Linked DNA regions of Homo sapiens: region 2 is linked to region 1. Evidence: promoter capture Hi-C in 16 types of primary human blood cells and fetal thymus (Javierre and others, 2016). All regions are on one chromosome and are shown on one strand. The core of a region is centred on a gene start or on the middle of the fragment in contact, and the rest is flanking DNA. Distances in the headings are between cores, read along the strand shown.

What was found. The method cuts DNA at HindIII sites, captures the fragments that hold promoters and counts their contacts. A CHiCAGO score of 5 or more calls a contact.
Region 2: a contact is called between a fragment that was not itself captured here and the fragment with the promoter of ST3GAL6-AS1 in region 1, in 1 of 17 cell types (neutrophils). The highest score is 5.6, in neutrophils.

The regions. Positions count from the first base shown.
Region 1 is chr3:98,731,401-98,738,360 of GRCh38, reverse strand. It overlaps ST3GAL6-AS1 (ST3GAL6 antisense RNA 1), which reads left to right and starts at 5,710. Exons shown (of 5, transcript NR_046683.1): 1 at 5,710-5,935. It also overlaps a transcript of ST3GAL6 not described here. RefSeq lists enhancers at 4,748-5,495, 5,496-6,244. The HindIII fragment of the contact is 17,493 bases long and covers 1-6,960 here.
Region 2 is chr3:98,530,432-98,536,519 of GRCh38, reverse strand. GPR15 (G protein-coupled receptor 15) reads right to left here and starts at 4,542. Exons shown (of 1, transcript NM_005290.4): 1 at 1,839-4,542. The coding sequence starts at 4,486. The coding sequence ends at 3,404. RefSeq lists a silencer at 4,522-4,681. The HindIII fragment of the contact is 1,688 bases long and covers 2,880-4,567 here.

The sequences.
Region 1 (6,960 bases), core at 4,461-6,960:
CTGAGGCTGCAGTGAAGAATGATTGTGCCACTGCATTTCAGCTTGTTCAACAGAGTGAGACCCTATCCAAAAAAAAAAGAAAGAAAGAAATACCTGAGACTAGGTAATATAAAAAGCAAAGAGGTTTAATTGGCTCACGGTTCTTCAGGCTGTACGGAAAGCATGACTGGGAGGCCTCAGGAAACTCACAGAAGTCTCCTGGCAAAAGGTGAAGGGGAAGCAGGCACATCTTACATAATTGGAGTAGGAGGAAAGGCGGGGGTGGGGGGAGGGCGGGGGGAGGCTAAACAACCAGATCTTGTAAGAACTCACTCAGTATCAGAAGAACAGCACCCAGGGGGATGGTGTTAAACGATTAGAAACTGCCCCCCATATCCAATCACCTCCCATCAGGCCCCACCTCCAACACTGAGGATTACAATTGAATATGAGATTTGGGTGGGGGCACAGATCCAAACCATATCACTATCTTTGTCTTTTGTGGTTTTTGTTGGTTTAAAGTCTGTTTTGTCTAAAATTAGAATAGCAACCCCTGCTTTTTTCTGTTTTCCATTTGCTTGCCAGACTTTTCTCCATCCCTTTACTTTCAGCCTTTGGATATCATTGAATGTGAGATAGGTCTCCTGAGGTTTCAGGTTTTATGCCACTGTGTTAATCAGAAAAGCCATAATTTAGTTGTTTTGTATGTTAGTTAAGTATGTGAGTTAACAATGGGCCAAAGAATCTCAAAAATAATTTTCTATCTAAAAATTGTGCCAAGTCTCCCTAGATACTAATAGAGTGGTGATGATGAGACATCTTGAAATCAAAGGACAAGAGGATAAAAGGAATACTGTATAGGCGTCTCTGAGCTCTGCCTGTCTTTGTGATATTCCTGTGCTCTGCCCTAGGGAAAAGAGAGGGGAAATCAGTTATGGTAAATTAGTAGAAAGAAAAAAAGGCAACTAAGGGTAGAAATTTGTGTGTTTATGTGTGTGAGAGAGAGAAAGAGAGACAGAGAGACAGGAAGGGGCCGCGTGTGGTGGCTCACGCCTGTAATCCCAACACTTTAGGAGGCCGAAGTGGGCGGATCACCTGAATTCAGGAGTTCAAGACCAGCTTGGCCAACATGGCGAAACCCCATCTCTACAAAAAAAATACAGAAAATAGCCAGGTGTGGTGGTGCATGCCTGTAATCCCAGCTACTTGGGAGGCTGAGACAGGAGAATCACTTAAATTCAGGAGGCAGAGGTTTTAGTGAGCGGAGATCGAGCCACTGCACTCCAGCCTGGGTGACAGAGCAAGACTCCACCTCAAAAAGAAAGAAAAAGAAGAGACAGGAAAGCCTATCATGACTGGGTGAAGACTGAATTAGGCTCTCATCAAAAATCTCCAGGCATGCCAATTCTAACTAGAATACGATTCAAACTCCACAAAATCTGCCTTCCTATCTTACTGACTACATCTCCTCCCACTCCGTCTTTTGCACTCTTCTTTAACTACATATTGTCTTAACCACTCTCTTCTCACACTGCACCTTCTGTTTCTCAAACGACCCAAATTCACTCATGCCTCATGTATTTGTAACTCATTTTTTGACTCTGCCCCCCATAAAACATAAGCTCTGTAAGAGCAGGGGCTTTGCTGTGTCCAACACGGCACGCTCCCAACCCCACCCACAAGAACATCTCTTGTTACATGGTGGACATTCAGTGAATGTTGGTTGACCATTAGGGAAGTCCCATCTCATGGATGACCACATGGAATATCACCCAAAGTCCACTGAAAAAAACACTTTCTGCTCCCTTGTTGCCCCCATCTTTCAGCATAGTGACTCTGACCCACAGCCATAACAACTCCAGGCCTGCTTCCACAACCTGTGGAAGGTGAGAATAACCCTCCCACCTCTGGAGGAATCTCCAGCTTCCTTGCCGTCTCCTCTTCTGGGGGCCTTGTTCTCATCATGTCCTAAAGATCTTTCCATTCCCAACCAAATAAAAAGTAAATCAATGTTTAAACCATCTTTCAAAGCCTAGCACTAAATACATTGCAAAGTATGCAATGATGCTATCTGTATACTTTGTCTTAGGCTAAGCATATAAGAAGGGGAAAGAGAGAATGGGGGAGAAGATAACTTTTCACTCAGCTTTCCAATGTTTTTAAGAAAATCTCCTAAGGGCTAGGTGCTTTCCTTTCCCTCTATCTCAATGGTGCAGGAAGAGGAAGGCCCCTGGTCAGATACAAAAGTTTGTGGCAGTAAAAAGGTAAACTGGACAATCCTCCTAGATGACCAAAAGCTCTCCAAGAAAAACAAACATGGGCACAAGGAAGAAAACCAGGTCTTACTGATCCTGTTATCTTTTACTTTCATAACCTCACTGCCAGAATCTCAGCACTTCTTAGCCTGATTATACGACAGTCAAGTTCCTGACCAAGTCTGAGACACTGCAGCTGATTCAGTGCTGAGGTGTCACCATCAGGGGAAAGAACTCCAGCTATCCCACAATGGTGAGGGAATTGTGTTTCTGACATCCTGATATGGAATTGTAAATAAAATTTCCTACCAAAACACTATAATATCCAATGTATACATTCTATTCCATGCATCAAGCTCACTCCAAATCAAAATCCATTTTAACCCCTAAGGGTTAAATTGGAAACTGTGATGTGTGATGTGTGCTATTATCCATCACAGTTGGGACAGACAGGAGAGAATGTTTCATTTCAACTGTGAGGGTGGGGATGTAACCCTGGGAAAACCTCTTCCAGGTAACATATAGCTTGAGTAGGAGCTTCAGTGAAAATGTATTCAGAAAGGAAAGAACTTTTGGAATATGCCCATTGAAGACAGCATAAACTCCTAGATTTCGCCAGACCCTGATCACCTAAGTGACACATCAGAGATGTGCAGAAGATAGAAGGTTCCTGGCTGGTGAAAGTCTAAAGCTGTCACAAGGAAGGCAAAGTACGCAGACCACCTATTCAAAAAGCCCAGCCTGGGGATAACTAGAAAGGCATATTCAGACCAAGGTATATATAAATGGAGGATATGCCAGGCAAAGGAGAAAGATATGCACAGGAAATGGAAGAATTTGTGCAGAATGTATACTGCAGAGGATTCCTGGGATGGTGTAGGCAGAGGTAGAGTCAAACCTTTATGTGAGCCACTGCAACTCAACCTAAGGCAATCTTGGTTTTTTAAGCTATAAAATGGGGCTAAAAATTCCTTTCTTGCAGGAGTTTTGTCAGGAAGATTAAATAAAATAGCATATGAGAACACACCAAAAATCAGAGTGGGTGCCAAATAGGAGTTCCATGCTTCCTTCACCTTCTCAATAAGCATCACCTAAAATGCATACTAAACAGATCTCTGGTCACCACTCCTGGATGGAAGCACAATTTCCATGGAAGCCATCTGGCAGTCTGCATGGTTAGCAGATGATGCTTATCAGGGAAATGCGGGAAACATGGCATTACTCACGTCTTCTCCCATAAGGTTCCACATGATGTGGAACACAGAAATGTCTCCAACAGAAGAAAACTGCTGTGAAATCCAGTCGTCTGCCACTGAATGAGAACACCTACGATTTACAATTTCACAGGAGACAGACTAATGTTTTTAAATGGTATGTCTCTTAATGGTATTATTCTGTCAATACTGTCTATTCTTGAGCCTCAAAGGTTTTTTATTATTATTATTGATATAGGGCATAAGAACAAACTATCTCCAACAAATCTACTGAAATGTAGTCAAAATTGCAGTCCCATTTTACTGCACCATGTAAACAACATATGGTGCAATCTGGGACTGAGACATTGTGGAACTATAGTAAAAATACAATTCAAGGAAAGCGACATCACAAGGAATGAAGATCTCCCCTCCCAGTCTACATGACCACAAGAACAGCTTAGGAAACCAGACCAATGCAACACTTTCTAGAAAAATTATCTTCTTATAAGCAAAGTTGCCATTATCCAAAGACCCTCTGTGGAATTTGGCCTTACTCAGAGACAATAAACTAAATAACAGTCTAAGGGCATCGTTTTTCGCAGATCTTGGTATGAAAAGCGTTCTTAGTGAAACAAAAAGGAAGCAACATAAACCAACTTGCAAATGTCAAATCGGCATGCTTTCAAACGGAAAATAACCTGGCAGCCTGAGCAGATGTTCCCAAATATTTAACATCTCCCTGTAAATAAAAAGACAGTTTTATGGTCTGCAGCTAGGTGAGGAAGATTGAGGACCGGAAAGTCAAACATTCGGGCTAGCCTAAAAGAGGTGGCCGCTGGAGACCCGAAGAGTTACGAGGTTCAAAGGTCAGCGTGGACACGAGACCACAGACCACGAGGAGCTTTCAGCAGATCTACAGTTTCCTTAACTATCCACCTACTCACAGCACCCAGCTGGTCCTCGTAAGGCAAATGGGACTTACGACTTTAGACTCGGTGTGATTTCTGATACACTAGCAGTCACCACGTTATTTTCATCCCTACCCCCACACACTGTTTTTAAACATTACCTTTCAACAGCAACCTCTTCTCCCCCTCCTGCTCCTCCCCACTGTCCCCGCCAACCCTCGCTACTGAAAAATCCTAAAAGAAGGTGCTTTGGGTTTGTTTTTGGTTTCTGGGCGTCGCTTTTTATAGGTTTTCTTTTAAGCCAAAATAACAGCACACAAGAAAGAGGCTTGAGATTGCCGGGATCTCCGGAGCCGGCGGCCTCAAAATGACAAGTTGCTTCTCCCTTATCTTGAAAATTAACAGCAGCCCAAACACTGCAATTTACTCACCGTCCTCCTTTCTCCTAAACTGCCTCGGAGCTTGTTTTGTTAGGTCTAGTTCCATTGTGGAGGGAAAAAGGGTTTCTCGAAAAACTTTATACGGTAAGAGACCAGAACCTTCCAGACCCCTCAACCCTCCTCGCGTACAGACCCTTTTACAAGAAAACAATAGTGAACGAGGAGCTGGACACTCCTCTTGGCTTCCCAATTGCACAACCTCGCCGGCGATTCGACAAAAGAGGGTCCCAGAGCAGATTCTCTCGGCCCCCACGGCTCCTGGGCTTACCCGCGAGGCTGCGCGTCCCTCCCGCCCTTCACTGGGGCTCCAGGATCCCCGGGTGCCCTCTCGGCGGTGGCTGCGGCGCACGCCGGCTGGCTCGCGGGTCCCAGCGCCCATGGTCCCTTTACGCCTCCGCACGCCACCTCCTTGGTGCTGGCAGGATATGTGGAGGGGCAAACAGCGCTCCGTGTCCCCACCCCCAACCCTGAGCCTCAGAGGCTGCAAAGCCGGAGGGTCGGGGCAGCACAGACCCCAGGCCGCCCGGACCCCGGCCCAGACCGGTCTTCCCGCACCCCCAATTTCCCTCACCCGGGCAGTGCAAACCCGCAGCGAAGCCGGCCGGCAAGAGTGACCCGCCGAGGCCCAGGAGCGACGACCGCAGAGGCGCACCGGGCTCCGAGACCTGAGGGGCCGCTGCTCCAGCCGGCTGCTGCCTCTCTCGCGGCGCCTGCCACATCGGGCCGCAGAAGCCCGAGGCCGGCAGAAACCAAAGGAAGGTGGCGCGGGCCAGGGGCGGCGCGGGCACGATTCCTTCCCCGCGGATCTGGCGGGGGAGCAGAGGAGGGAGCAGCCCTGCCCGGAGTCTCAGGCTCCCGCCAGCCCCAATCCCGGGCGACTGCGCCGAGCGCCTCCGGAGTCGCGGGAAGCTCCTCCTGCTCCGCGGCTGGCGCCAGTTGCACGGTGGCCGCCCCCAAATTCGAGGAGGAAGGTGCAAAGTGGTGGGAGGCTGCGGGTCTCCCGGAGGGTGAGGCGTTGGGGACCAGGCGGGAGCACAGCCGAACCCCTACCTTTCGGGCGGGGCGGACACCAGCCGCGCGCCCTCGCCGGGCGCCGGGACCGGAAAATCACCGCGAAGGGAGGGACGAGGAAAGGCGGCGGGTGGCTTCAGGACAAGGTAGGAGGATCGATTTCCACAGCCAAGAAGACACTCCCATCCCGCCCTGGTTTGTTTGGAAAGCTGCAGGAGCTAAAGTGAGGGGTGGCCGGGTACTCCCCTTCCCCGCCCGGCTGGCAGGCGGCAGAAGTAAACACTGAGGCTTGTGGCGCCGCGGACTGACTGTGACACAAGGCTCAGCAGAAGGTTTGGTCCCTATCAGAAGGGGAGGAGTGTTCAGAGAGCTCCTGAATTCCGGGGCTCTGCCCTTCAAGGGCAAATGTGTTCGTACTTTTTATCTTTTGAAGGAGATAAATTACTTTAGGGAGAACGAAGGTGGAACGTGCTGTTTGCGTTTTCTTTTCTCTCCATAGGCAAAACCCTACGTTATTAATGTCCTCTTACTTGGATGGCTCTGAATACTTTTTAAAGTGTGTTTGTCAAATAATTCCTTGTCTAGAAACATTCAAGTCATAGCTCCAACCTTTGGGCCCTGAGCAGTGTAATCACGTGCCATCAATTGACCCCAGAGAGAAGACCCACGGACTTGGATGTAATTCAAAGTTGGCAATGTGTCACGAACTGGAACAAAGTCCTTCATCTGTGATGGGCTTTCTGGTATTTGTCCTTTTTTTTTTTTTTTTTTTTGAGACAGAATCTTGCTTTGTCACCCAGGCTGGGGTACAGGGGCATGATCTTGGCTCACTGCAACCTCTGCCTCCCAGGCTCAAGCGACTCTCCTGCCTCAGCCTCCCGAGTAGCTGGGATTACAGGCTGGGATTACCACTCCCAGCTAATTTTTGTATTTTTAGTAGAGATGAGGTTTCATTATGTTGGCCAGGCTGGTTTCGAACTCCTGACCTCAAATGATCCGCTCGCCTCCACCTGCCAAAGTGCTCTGGTATTTGTCTTAATTGTAATAACAGCCCTAGGAGGTATCATTTGTTGTTTTCCCAACCTTACTTTAAAAAAAAAATGGCCGGGCGCCGTGGCTCACACCTGTAATCCCAGCACTTTCGAAGGCCGAGGCGGGCGGATCACGAGGT
Region 2 (6,088 bases), core at 2,474-4,973, 200 kb after region 1:
CAACCCAAATGGAGTAAATGTGTTTGGGACTATGTTTGCGACTATGCGTGTCTTGATTACATTTCTTTTAAAATTAATTATAAAGTATCAGACAACACATTACCTAGGATTTAATGGAGAGCTTTTCTGGGGTAAGTTTCAAAAAGCTATTTGAGAAATGCTTGAGAGGTCACTATCCTTTTATATTTGTCATTTACATCCTCCGAGTAACTTTGGACTACTTATGCAAATGACAACAAATAATGTTAATCTGTAGTGATTTCCTTGTGTATTACTCTGAATTGTAAAAATTTTATTTTGTTTTCCTAACTTTGGATATAACTGGCAAGGCATGATTGTGTTAGGATGAAAGAGTAATTTTCTGGAAATTCTTGGCAATGTATTGATTTGTTCTTTAATGACATTAAATTATCACAAACTAGCCTTTAGGCTAGTTTAATTCAGGTAATAAAAATAATGAAAAGGTATAAATATGAGTCTGTGATTCTATGTATATCTGAATGTATATGTATATGTAGAATATCTACGTAAGTATAGAAATAGAAATTGTTCAAATTAAAAATGAAGAAATTTTATTATTATTATTATTATTATTTTTGAGACAGAGTCTAGCACTGTCACCTGGGCTGGAGTGCAATGGTGCAATCTTGGCTCACTGCAACCTCCATTTCCTGGGTTCAAGCGATTCTCTTGCCTCAGCCTCCTGAGTAGCTGGGATTATAGGTGCCTGCCACCATGCCCTGCTAATTTTTTGTATTTTTAGTAGAGACGGGGTTTCACTATGTTGGTCAGGCTGGTCTTGAACTCCTGACCTTGTGATCCACCTGCCTCGGCCTCCCAAAGTGCTAGGATTACAGGCGTGAGCCACTGCACCCAGCCTATGATTTTAAAAATATGCAAAATGTCAGACAACTAATTTGTAATAAACTTTTTAATGCTATTATAATGTAAATTACATTTCATACCAGCAGAATCCATATATGACAAAATAACATGTGAACTTAATCAAGCTTTGAACTTTTTTCTATTAGAGTTGTACTACCTATAAAATTATATCTATTTTTTTCTTTCACAACTGGTACATTATGAATGTAAAATAAACTAAGATTTTATTAAAGCCTACAATTATTATATCTATTTAAAGTACTAAAAAACCAATAATACATATTTTTATTTGGTGTTATTTTAAATATTCTCAGCAAAATTAAAGTGAAGAAGTAGAAATAAAATCTCAATATTTTAAAAATGAGAATGATTAAGTATTATTTGATGTTAGTTTGAAAATTTGTAAGGAGTAGTCAATAATTAATAATAGAAATCAAATCACTTTATAAAGTAACTTTTTACTCCACATTTAAAACTTTATTTATATTTATTATTTTTACAGTATCCTTGATAATTCTATAGACATAGATATTACCAACTACATTTAAGTATGAAAGGTTAAAATGACCTTACTAGTATCACAACATTAAGGGTGAAGCTAAAATTAATAGCACAGGTTTTCTGCTTTCCCAACCAATAACTTAGCTGATTGATTCAGCTATTTTTTAAAGGCAGTATTTTTCAAAGGCAGTAAGTTTCATGATTAGTAACAGTGCTTTTGCCGATTTGTTTTAAAGAAATGTGTGTCTTCTACCTTCTGTATTTTGTTTTTGTTTAACTTTTGGAGATCTATTCAATTGCATTGAATTTAGTTTTGAAGTTTTCCAAGAATATTTATTTGTTATTATTTACATGGTCTTTTCTTCTATAACCATAATAATTTACTAAAAGTTTATTAGAATTAGTATTAATATTAATATGTTGTTAGAAATTAATACAGTCCAGAAGAATACTTATGTAAGGAAATTATATTTTTATTTAATAACAGTTTAAGAAAAATTAACAAGTTAGCCAATTTATAAAACCAAAAACTGTATTTTCAGCTTCTAATTAGGCTACAAGGAGATGTCCGATATTTGAGGTTTCTCTTCATGTGAAAGATACATGAGATGAAATTAAATTGGCTAGTCTTTGAAAGGATTCTAAGTTTTTTCTGATTTTCAAATCTAATATTTAGAAGTAAAATGGTAATTCATTCAAGTCAACAGTGGAGGTAAAAACATAACCCGCTTTCCCTTGAATCAAAAGATGTTTACAATAGCATGCTTGCTGCTGCAGAGTCTTTTGTGGTTGCCACTAATTACATGTTTTTCACATCAAAGTCTTCAAAAGGAATATAGGTACAAATTGACTCAATAAATATTTATTGGGTAAAGGAATTCAAGAAGGTTTCTGGGTATGGAAAAAATATATATAAAATACTAGTGAGATCTTTGTTAGAGATTTTCTACTTTGGCTGAATACAGAGCAGCCTGTCTCCCTATATTACTGGATCTTATCTTGAAATTATAGGCACCAAGCAAATGATACTATAGGGAATGTGTAGCACTAACATTTTAATTAAAATACAAAATGATAATCTGCATCGGGGTACAGCTAAGCATTTTATGAGTTCCAATTATATTAGTAATAACATTTTCATTTGATAACTAGATAACTGGGTAATTAAAAACATGTAATTAAAGCAAAGTCAAATCCTAATTTATAAAGCCAATGGAAACAAAAGAGCATAGTAAAACCCCATTAAAAAGTAGTTGCTACACCATTATGAATGAGATACATTTTTATCAATATCTTATAAAGCAAATAGATGTTGAATCCTGCCATATGCTTATGTATTAAAATACTAGAAGACCATATGATAAAGTAAGTCCCAAATCATAAACACAATACAAAATCCCCATGAGTTTTTTTTTGCCAGTCCAAAGCCATTGTGAATAGGCATAGGATGAAGCACAATGTTGGAAGATGATGAAGAATCACGATACAAAGCTTTAAAGATTGAGGTCAGAATCTAGCTTAGTAACTCAGAAACAATTAATTGCACAGTGCAGGTATATTATATTTTTGTTACCTGCATTGTTACTGCATTTCTCATCAGATGAAAGTAGGCAGAATCATTTAAATGTAGTCCAATTTAGAGCCCAGTATGAAGGGTGGTGGGGATGAAGGTACCATGGTTTTTGAGAGAGGAAAGGCCCAAATGTGCATTAACAATCATGAAGAAAGGGACTGGTTCAAGCAGGAGCCTTTATCCAGGAGTTCAAGGACAGATGGGAATTGGATTTTGTCTGGTGGACTTGATTGGCAAGGGTCGAAGAAGGCTGCTTAGCTGAGAAAACAGCACATGGCCTAATTATATCCACAACACAGGGATTTTTCAGTCCTCTCTTTAAAAATGAACTCTTCCTTGCATCTATGAAGCAATGTGAATCCTATCATTAACACTTCCTTCTTTGTTGCTGACAAAAATTAACTCCTAAACCCACCAACAGAGCTTGAAATGTCACAGTTCCCTTTAGAGTGACACAGACCTCTTCCTCCTCCTGGCAAAATCTTCTGCATGAATGAAGGTGGAGAGAGCCTTAGTGAGGTGACTATCTGATGTCTCAGTGCTACTCCCAAAGTCATAGTTTTTCAGGCAAGGGCACAAGCAGTGGACAATGGCCCGGCGGATGTAGCTGTCGAAGATATAGTAAATGAAAGGGTTGACACAGCTGTTGGCAAATGCCAAGGGTCCACTCACCTCCATACCAAGCTGAAGAATAGCTGAGGGTAAATAGTGTTCTTGCCGCAACCCAGAGACAATGGCCAGGAACTTGAAAGTATTGAAGGGCAGCCAGGAGACAAGAAAGGCTGCCACGACAATAAAGATGATCTTTATAGATTTCTTCAGCTTTTTGTTGTGCTTTCCTGATTGCTGGTAATGGGCACACAGCTTCCTTGCAATGCAACAGTAGCAGGTCACAATGCTCAACAAAGGGACAAAAAAGGTGAAAATTAAGGCCACCAGGGACCATATGAGTTTAATTGGAGTTGCCTTTTTCTCTGCACAGTATGGCTTATCATCAATCAGCGTGAGCTCCCTGGACAGAAGAGTAGGCAACCCCAGCAGGCAGGAGATAAACCAGATGCTGGCACAGACTACATATGCACAGTCTGTCCTTCTGAATTTCCTGGATACGACTGGCCACACAATGGCCAGGTAGCGGTCAACACTCATGCAAGTGAGCAGGAGGACACTGCAGTGCATATTGACGGAGATCATGTAGGAGCTCCCTTTGCACAGGAAGGAGCCCGTCCTCCACAGTCCTAGAGATGCTTCTTTATCCACCCAGAGAGGCAATGTGACAAGAAAAATGAAGTCAGAGGCAGCCAGATTGATGATAAAGATGTCGATCAGTCTTCGGCTGCCGGGTTTGAAATGCAACGCTCCCATGAGAACAAGGTTCCCCAGCACTCCAGTCAGGAACACAGCTGTGTAAAAGACTGGAAGGAAGACAGAGGTGTAAGGAACATGGGAGTGGGTCTCCCTGATGTCAGAGTTTGGGCTCGTAGCATAGTAATAATCCAAATAAACTGAAGTTTCTTCTGGGTCCATCACCAAAGAGCAGATGCCAAATCTGGTGAGTTTACTTACATATGATGTTTTTGTATAAATTTTAGAAACCTCAAGGAAGCTTCTTTTATACAGTGCCTGCCTCTCTCTCTCTTTTTTCCCCTCCCTTTAAAGATCTTGGACAAACATGAAAGCCGAGATTAAAAAATGCAGTTTCTACCAATCCTCAGAAAGGGCACACAAGGAGCACCACTCTGATTGGTGTTGGTTGGTTGTGGTTGTGGTTTTTTTAATTTGCATTTGCTCGTGAAACTGAGGTGCTTTTTGAGTTATTTTTTCAAGATATTCAATTTATTTCTTTAAGGCCAGTAATTAAGAAGTGAATTAACTTGATTTTTTCACTTCCTTTAAAGACCTCCTTTGCTTTTGACACTGAAATTTATTTTGATCTAGCCTTCTGTTTCACATAGAAGATATTGTTCTGCTTTTAGAATTGTAAGGCAATGATAATGTATTCTTTTTATTTACTTTGTTGGCGAACTAGGAAGAAAACTAGTCTTTCATTGTGTAAAGAGTGAATGAAAAGTTTCCCAAATCATACCAGTATACAACTAGGTCAAACAACATGATTCCATTTAGGGCATGAGAGTCTCCCCATCTATGTGGCTCTTTCATTTGACATGTAGTCAATCCTGTTTCATAAGTTTTTAAAAATCCCCCCCCAAAGACTGGGACCACGTTTTCTGCTCTTATTATTTTAAGTTTTCCACTACAACTTGCATAGCATCTTGCATATAGTTGGTGCTTTGGAAATTGTAGTTTATTAGGTTTGATTCAGAAAATTCTTTTTGTTATCCAGCATATCTAGTAGAAATGAATTCATTGGGGTCTAACTTCAGGTATTGTTGTTATTTATGTAACTTACAAACACAGGTTTAACAATCTCAAGTTGCTATTTTTACCCTCCTATCTGCTATTGTAATTCAACCAGTGAAGTTCTCTTTTGTTAAGAGTTAACATCATTGATTAGGAGATTTTCTCCCTATTAACCCTCAAATACGCTTCATCAGACTCTGGATCCCCTCTGATCTTCTCTTCATTATACCACACCTGTGTAGCACTGATTTTTTTAGCTTCTGAGCCATGGCCTTCTGGTACCTCCACACATGGGTGAACATCACTTTTGGAATTGCTGATTGCTGATCTGGCAACAGATATACCTATAAGTGACATCATGATGGAGGTGCCAGCATGGACACTATAAAAGGGAAGATTTTTTAGTACATTTAAAACACTTGGGGAACAGGCTAAAACAGAAAGAATTCTATCACATTTTTCTCTCATATGTTTCCTTTTATATTATGATGACCATAGTAAAATATAACACATTTTGAAACGGACTCCATTTATTTCAGCTCTTTACTGGTCAAAGTGACTCAAGGCTCTCTTGCACTATTCTTCTCTCCTATCTGATTTAATCTTCAGAATTCTAGTTTCAGGTTGATATTGCTATTCATAGAAAAATGTATGTTTGTAGATGAAAATATAGTCATTAAACATTTGAAGTCCTTTCTTAAGTTGTTTTTTCATTTGTTTGTTTGTTTAATTTTTGAGACAGGGTCTCACTAGGGTCTCACTTTGTCA